Regions from separate parts of the Homo sapiens genome. Here region 2 is linked to region 1. The links are contacts of gene promoters, found by promoter capture Hi-C in blood cells and fetal thymus (Javierre and others, 2016). All regions are on one chromosome and are shown on one strand. Each heading gives the region's core, a stretch centred on a gene start or on the middle of the fragment in contact. The rest is flanking DNA. Distances are from core to core; before and after follow the strand shown.

The links. The method cuts DNA at HindIII sites, captures the fragments that hold promoters and counts their contacts. A CHiCAGO score of 5 or more calls a contact.
Region 2: a fragment that was not itself captured here is called in contact with the fragment with the promoter of AFF1 in region 1 in 1 of 17 cell types (non-activated CD4 T cells); the score reaches 7.2 in non-activated CD4 T cells.

What each region holds. Positions count from the first base shown.
Region 1 is chr4:86,933,493-86,937,369 of GRCh38, reverse strand. AFF1 (ALF transcription elongation factor 1) reads right to left here and starts at 2,359. Exons shown (of 21, transcript NM_001166693.3): 1 at 2,130-2,359. AFF1-AS1 (AFF1 antisense RNA 1) reads left to right here and starts at 2,520. Exons shown (of 3, transcript NR_038841.1): 1 at 2,520-2,883; 2 at 3,828-3,877. It also overlaps a transcript of C4orf36 not described here. RefSeq lists enhancers at 925-1,044, 900-1,441, 1,442-1,983 and silencers at 1,296-1,434, 1,905-2,654. The HindIII fragment of the contact is 7,488 bases long and covers 1-3,877 here.
Region 2 is chr4:88,600,257-88,604,006 of GRCh38, reverse strand. The region is part of intron 2 of HERC3 (HECT and RLD domain containing E3 ubiquitin protein ligase 3); the gene reads right to left. Among named protein-coding and RNA genes, the nearest start is that of HERC3, 9.7 kb to the right of the region's middle. RefSeq lists an enhancer at 2,206-2,896. The HindIII fragment of the contact is 3,506 bases long and covers 265-3,750 here.

The DNA of each region.
Region 1 (3,877 bases), core at 1,110-3,609:
TGGCAAAAAATGCATGCCTGTTACGCATGTAGGAGAAAGCAATGTTTACAATGGCCTGGACTTTTGTCATAAATTTTCAATCTCTAAATGATCTTTGTATTCTAATTTAACACACTGTGATTCTTCAAAATTATAGTTTTGCAAAGTTGAAGAGTTAAGCAAATGCCAAAGCCACAAATTCAATTGTTACAGTGAATAAGGCAGATTAATATTTAACAGTTCATTTTCTTGCAGGTGAAAAGCAAAGAATTCACAGCAACATACCTGCAAGTCTCACATCTCCAGCCTCAACATCCTTGTAAGTTATATTTGAAAAAAGAAAAGTCTCCAATATCTAAACTCATTTTCCCCAAAAGTCCCACTCTTCAATCTCTATTTGTCTCAAAGTGACCAAATCTATCCCAAATTATTTCCTTGGTTCTTTCTCTCCATAAAAATGGCTTAATTCCAGTGAGTTTCTCTAGTTTTACGTACTACTTATGTATTTTGTTGCTTTCTCTCATCTCCCCTTGGATCATTTTCCTTTAGTTCTCACCACTGCTTTTCTCCATATTTATCTTCAAATATTCAAGTACAATACTTCCCAACATCCACAAGAGACAACACCTTGAAATTAAAGCAAGCAAACCATCCAGAATTTTCCATTCTCCTGTGAATCTACTTCCGGAATATCCACTCAAGTAATCCTTCCCACTAAAGATGAAAGGCGAGCTAAGGAAATACATTAGACAGAGGAAGTAAACACTGAAACAGGGCCATGCCTAGGTATTCTTCGGCCCCAAAGAAAAAAAACTAGACTCTGGGTCCAAAGGTCTTTTTCGTGACTTTTATCCCCACCCAGAGGCCAACACCACGCAGGTCTGAGAGAGGTAACCCACGGCCACCTACCTTCTACACACACCGCACGACCTTGCTCTGAAATAATCTTGCACAAGCAAAATTCTCCACGCCTCTCAGACTCCTACCTAACGTTTCTGTGCTTCAGTTTCTGAGCTCTTCTCACTTTGCAACTGTCCCAGGGAACACTGGGTCTTCGCCTTAATTTACAAGTTTGCACTGAAGGTTTTAAATCAGTCTGATTTCCCCGTGGTGAGTCACACCCCGCAACGTGCACCAAGGGGGAGGGTGTTTAAAATTATCTCCGGCTCCACCCTTAAAACAAATCACTTGGCTGCAAGGCCTTTCCCCCTAACAGAGACTGGTTCAAGGGAGATTCGGACACATCTCCACCTCCAAAGCCAAGTGCCTTCCCGGGATGATCTGCATAACAATTTGCGGGTGCTGGTGGTGGAGAAGCTCCGGGAAGAGAAAACTAGCCGGACGGTATCGAACCGCCCGCAGGCCCGTCGCAGCTCCATTAATGCAACTACCATTACACTAAGGTAACGTGTGATTCACACTCTCCACCTTCTCTCCCCTCTCATTCGCTGGCTCCGGCGCTCGCACCGTCGGAGGGTGGGGTTGCGACGGCCACAGAGGATGGGACACCCGAGGGAAAAAAGCATTATCAAGAGAAATTAACCAGTCCCATACTAAAGACGCCTCTCCCTCTGTCCCTGAAGTTAAGTCTCAGAAGGTGGCTCCAACTCCTCCCCGGAGGCTACGGACCACCGACACACGCCTCCCTCCTGCTCTCAGCGAGACGCGGCGGGAAGCCCTCATCTCTCTCCACGACAGGCACAGGGAAGGGTCCCGGGGTGCAGGAGAGAAGAACCCCACTTTTCCCCGCCCCCTCCCCCCGAGAAACTTCTGGGACTCATTACGCAACTCAAGTAGCAGGTCCCAACAACGGGACAGCTCTCCGCAAAACGCGGGGTGCACAGGCAAACGTCTGACTTGGGGGCTGCGCGTGAGGGAGGAGCATGGGTCTCTTCCCATGTCCCCGTCCCCTGTTTTTCTACGCGCTACCTGCCGCGGGATCGCAAGTAGGGCGGTGAGAGCTCTGAGCCCTAGCCCGTTCTCCCCGAGGGCTCCCACCGGAAAAGTGGGAACGCCAGCGACTTGAGTCAGCGTGCTGGGAAGCCGGCAGAGAGGCGGGGAGAGCCTCGGCTTCCGAGAAGTCCGCGGCGGCGGCGTCGGGGGCCGGGCGGATCGACCCCCAGCCCTGGGTGGCGCAGGGCTGCGCTCACCTTCCAGACCCTTCCGTCCTCTAGTCCCGGGTCGGGCGCCCTCGTCACCTCCGCCCTCCCCTGACCTGTTGCGGTGGGAAAGGGCGCAAGTGCGGACGACGCAGGGGAGCGCCTCCTCCCGGGGCTCGGCTGCGGAACCGCGGAGGCAAAGGTGCAGCTGCGGCCGCAACGCGCGCAGGCGGCGGCCGAGTGCGCAGGGGCCGCGCGCGCCCGTCGCTCGCTAGCTGGCTGGCAAGCTCAGCACGCCGGCTGCCCGGGACGCCCCGAGGCCACGCCCTCCGCGCGAGGCCCCGCCCCCACCCCCACCTCCCGAGCTGCGGTACCGGGTTCCGCCCCGGCCCGCGCCCTCTAGCTGGCGCCACCCAAGCGGCAAGGGACGTCGCGGCCCTCCCGGGATTGGTGGGAGGATCGTGGGGGAGCGGCAGCTCAGGACGGAATACGGCAATGACCGCCCCGGTCGCGAGGGTGACCCTGCCCCGGGCTGCTGTGGGGGCGCAAGAACCCTTTCACTTTACGGCGAGATTAAGCTCAGGGTCAAGTTCTGAGCAAAAAGTGTCAAGGAGCCTTTTTGCAACCTCCTATAATATTGAAACAGATTCTGTGCCCTTTAAAGGAGATAATAACTAACATCTGGGGAGCGCTTTACAATTTAGAAAAGGCCTTTCACACACAGGCCTGTTTCATCTTCACAACAATCTTATAAAACAGATATATTGTTCCCATTTCCCAAATAATGAAACGGAAGCGCCGAAAAGTAAGTATTGTGCTCAATGTCACAGGCTACTAAGTGGCATGGGAAACCAGGTCTCCTGAATCTAGCCTCCGGGTTTCTGCTCTCCACCAGCCCAACCTCAGAAAATTCTAATAGGTGCAGGGGGCTTTGGCAAATAGACCCATGGGAAGAAGGGGAAACTTATGTCTAGTTAAGTCGCTGCCCGATTCCTGCTGTAAACATACCAAGGAAAGCAACAGGCTGTCTTCATTGTGTTGTCGCACCTTCCTTCCTGAAAGGGACGCAGAAAGATTACATCAAATGGCCCAGATGAGATTTCGCCGACAGTATTTTATGGTTTAAAATGGGTGAAATTATTTGGATGAAGAAAAGCGCCTTACTTAAATTTAATATGATGTGTAATGTAAATTGGTATAATGTGTGAAAATAAGCCCCTCCCTGCCTTCTCTGCCTTTTCTCTTTTTAATTTTGTTTGTCTCTACTGCTCTGCTCAACTCTTTTATTGTCCACATAATTGAAAACCTAATTGATGGATATTTGCATTTCCAAATTAAACCTTTGGCTACTTGACTTAATTTCCCATGGATTGTTTTCCAAAATATAACTCTTCGCCCTACTCCATATCCTCCCATCGGGAGATTGGTTTACCTAGACAGCTAAAATAATTAAGGTGTCCCTGATGAAACCTGGTGGTGTATCTATCTAAGATGAAAGTTCTGGTCATCCCTGAGCAGGATGGGACAGGAGTCATCTCTTACAAAGTGTTTGTACACCTTTTAAAGGTTTCTAACAGAGACTGATCTCTATTCTAATCAATAACAAGTATTTTAACGTTTTTGCTATATAATGAATACATTTCATTGTGAAATATATATTAGCATGGTAATATTTTATAATCTGAAAACTTTTACCACTTCTATCTAAAATGTTTTCCTTTTTTGTGTTCTTTTTGTGTCATCCCATAGTATCTCCTATAGGGCTCTTCAAACTGTGGTCAACTTAGTAAATGATGTTG
Region 2 (3,750 bases), core at 768-3,267, 1.7 Mb before region 1:
TGAATTATATCTCAGTAAAGATTTTTTAATTGTCTTTAAATTTCCTTTCTCTTGCTACATGTCTACTGCCTCTGCAGGTCCACATCAGCCAACAAGGCTTTCTTGAGTTTAATTGTGAGAATTGTTATTACCAACATAATAGGCACAAAAGTATTTTTTCTACAACAGAAAGGAGGAGGGAACAACCCCTAGAGTTTAATATGGGAAAGGTATCAATTATTTCAATATATTATTTTTGCTTACAAAGACATAAGAGGGGAAGCTTTATCTAATGCTTTGATCAGAAATGAAATATTATAACTTCAAAAGTTCTGACTATTGATAAAGTTGGAAATCTTAAGTGGGTGGATCTTCTGTCAAGGAAAATACCCCATGCACCTCTCTGGTTTTGAAAGAAAGGTCCAAGATTTAGAGACGAAAGGAGACGGGGGAAATCCCAAGCATGCCTTATAAAACAGTAGATGCTCCTATTTAAGATAGCAAATTAAGAGAGAGCGATTGGCCGGGCATGGTGGCTCACACCTGTAATCCCAGCACTTTGGGAGGCTGAGGCAGATGGATCACCTGAGGAAGGAGTTCGAGACCAGCCTGACCAACATGGTGAAACCGCATCTCTACTAAAAATACAAAAATTAGTGGGGCGTGGTGGCGGGTGCCCATAATCCCAGCTACTCGGGAGGCTGAGGCACAAGAATCGCTTGAACCCAGGAGGCAGAGGTTGCAGTGAGCCAAGATGGCGCCACTGCACTCCAGCCTGGGCAACAAGAGCAAAACTCCACCTCAAAAAAAAAAAAAAAAAAAAGAGAAAGCGATTGAAGCCTGTAATATGGCTGCAAGTTTGGAACCTGGCCAGTAAACAGTAGATTCTCCGTGGCAGAGAACAGCAGATGAATTTTGAGAACAGTGGTGTCTAACACTCAAGTTTGAACTTGTTGCCTGTTCTGTAACTACTTTTGAGAATCCCAAACCTTCTATCAAAGTTAAGACACAACACCCTTACAATAACTGTATTTTGCCAAGCATGAATAAAAAGAACCTTGAAAATAAGCCCTCAGAGCCCCTCCTGAAGACTGACAACTGAGCAAGAGTTTTGGATGAGGCATGATAAGAGAACCTAAACATTCTTCTTCCCTTCGGAAATTCTTAGAAATTTGAGAAAGACGCTAAATCTCTAATCAGCATCGCCTTGGGTTTGAATCACTTTATCTGGATATGAAAGAAAACAGTGACCAGGCACAGTGGCTCACACCTGTGATCCTAACACTTTGGGAGGCCAAGGTGAGAGGACAGCTTAAGCCCAGGAGTTTGAGACCAGCCTGGGCAACACAGTGAGACCTTATCTCCACAAAAAATAAAATAAAATCAGCCAAGTGTGGTAGGACACACCTGTAGTCCCAGCTACTTGGGGTGCTGGGGTGAGAGGATCGTTTGAGCCTAGGAGGTCAAGGTTTCAGTGAGCTGTGATCGCACTGCTGCACTCCAGCCTGGGTAATAGAGCGAGACCCATCTTAAAAACAAACAAGCAATGCAGAAGATTGGTCTTAAGGACATTCAGATTACATTTCAGTTTCCAAACATACTTTTTTTTTTTTTTTTTTTTTTTTGGAGACCAAGTCTCGCTCTGTCTCCCAGGCTGGAGTGCAGTGGCGCAATCTCAGCTCACTGCAACCTACGCCTCACAGGTTCAAGTAATTCTCCTGCCTCAGTCTCTCAAGTAGCTGGGATTACAGGCGTGTGCCACCACACCCCACTATTTTTTTGGTATTTTAGTAGAGACAGGGTTTCGCCATGTTGGGCAGGCTGGTCTTGAACTCCTGACCTCAAGTAATTAGCCCGCCTTGGCCTCCCAAAGTGCTTGGATCACAGGTGTGAGCCACGGAGCCCAGCCGGTTTCCAAATATACATTTTAATTATAATTCTGAATATCCTTTTCTTTTTTTTTTTTTTTTTTGAGACGGAGTCTCGCTCTGTCGCCCAGGCTGGAGTGCAGTGGCGGGATCTCGGCTCACTGCAAGCTCCGCCTCCCGGGTTCACGCCATTCTCCTGCCTCAGCCTCCCAAGTAGCTGGGACTACAGGCGCCCGCCACTACGCCCGGCTAATTTTTTGTATTTTTAGTAGAGACGGGGTTTCACCGTTTTAGCCGGGATGGTCTCGATCTCCTGACCTCGTGATCCGCCCGCCTCGGCCTCCCAAAGTGCTGGGATTACAGGCGTAAGCCACCGCGCCCGGCCCCTGAATATCCTTTTCTAATCATACTTCTTAAACATGCTAGTCTCTCCATATTAAGAATCACTGTTCTAGGTCCTACAGGTCAAAATATCAGGATTTCAAGACAAGATTGCAGACTTCAAAGGTGTCTTCCCTAATCTTTTCATTGGTACATTCATTTCATCCTAATGAAAAGAGGATGGATTCTAACAGAAATGGTGAAGACTTACTTTGAATTATAATACTAGGCGAACACATCAAAGCTGAATATATCAGCCAATCTACAGGAGAGAACTGTCAACATATGAAGGAGACAGCTAATTGGCTCTTCTATGCAAAGTCAGCTTTTAAAATGACAAACTCTTTTCTCCCAAGATAAAAGCATGCCCAAATGGCTACAAATTAAAGATTACAACACAGAGGAAGCTCGTACTTTCAACCTCTCTTGACAACAATTACAGTACTTTGGATTTAACTCAATGGCCTTAATTGGTATATACCAATTTTAAAACTGCCTTATTGTAATCCTGAGGTATGCTTTGAACTCTTGAGGCTTTCAGGAAAGGCATGAAAAGGCCCAAAATAAAATATAAAACTGAATCTCAATTTGCTGTCTTACACAGAAAGTTCTGCTTCTTCCCAAGATTTTTATTCCTTGTCTAGACTCTACACTAAAAAAGTATTAAGATTAAATGTTATTCTTTGAATTAACTACAAATATTGTGGAGAGGGAAGTAGAAATAAAATGAAAAACTGGCAGGGTAGTGGTGGTGGTGGTTGGTGGTCTAATGATACACTAATAGACCAGCAAGCTCACATAATCTAGAAATAATTTATTTTTCCCAACTTGCTCAATTGCTATTATCCACATTAATGGATTTTTTCGTTTTTAGTATTTCATAAATTTGTCTTATCTCTCCTACCTTCTAGTGTTCTTAGGTGCAAGAAGGTTGTGATGTGCCTTACAGAGAAAAAAATGTGTATTAGGTAAGTTTCTTTCATGCATGAGTTATAGTGTTGGCTGTGAGTTCAATGTTAATGAATCAACAAGCGGGTACATCCAAAATATGGAACAGGAAATCTGCTGATCTGTATGTGAGGCCTCCCCTGGAGAGAGCTAAAGTAATATCCAGAGTACATAATGAAGCTATAGATACAATGGAAAAGCAATTAAATCTGTGGATTCATGAGATGACAACCCATAAAAAATAAAAATCACAGTGGATAGCACTGATGTGAGGCTGAAAGCCAAAAACACTGTCACATTACACAGGGTCAAGAAAATGTTAAACCCTTCTCAACTAGTGTTTTATTACCAAGAAATATTGTGTATATTAGTAAGAAATATATATTAAATAGGCTGTCTAGACAGAAACACACATAAAAAAAGGTTATGCGTCAGCTGGCTGATAAAAATCTCTTGACCACAGCCTACAAGAACCTAATCCTGTATTTCCTCAGAAACAATGGCTCTGTATTCACTAATATGGTATTCACCATGACTTTACAGAACCTAACTATATACAGAGTATAACAAGTCC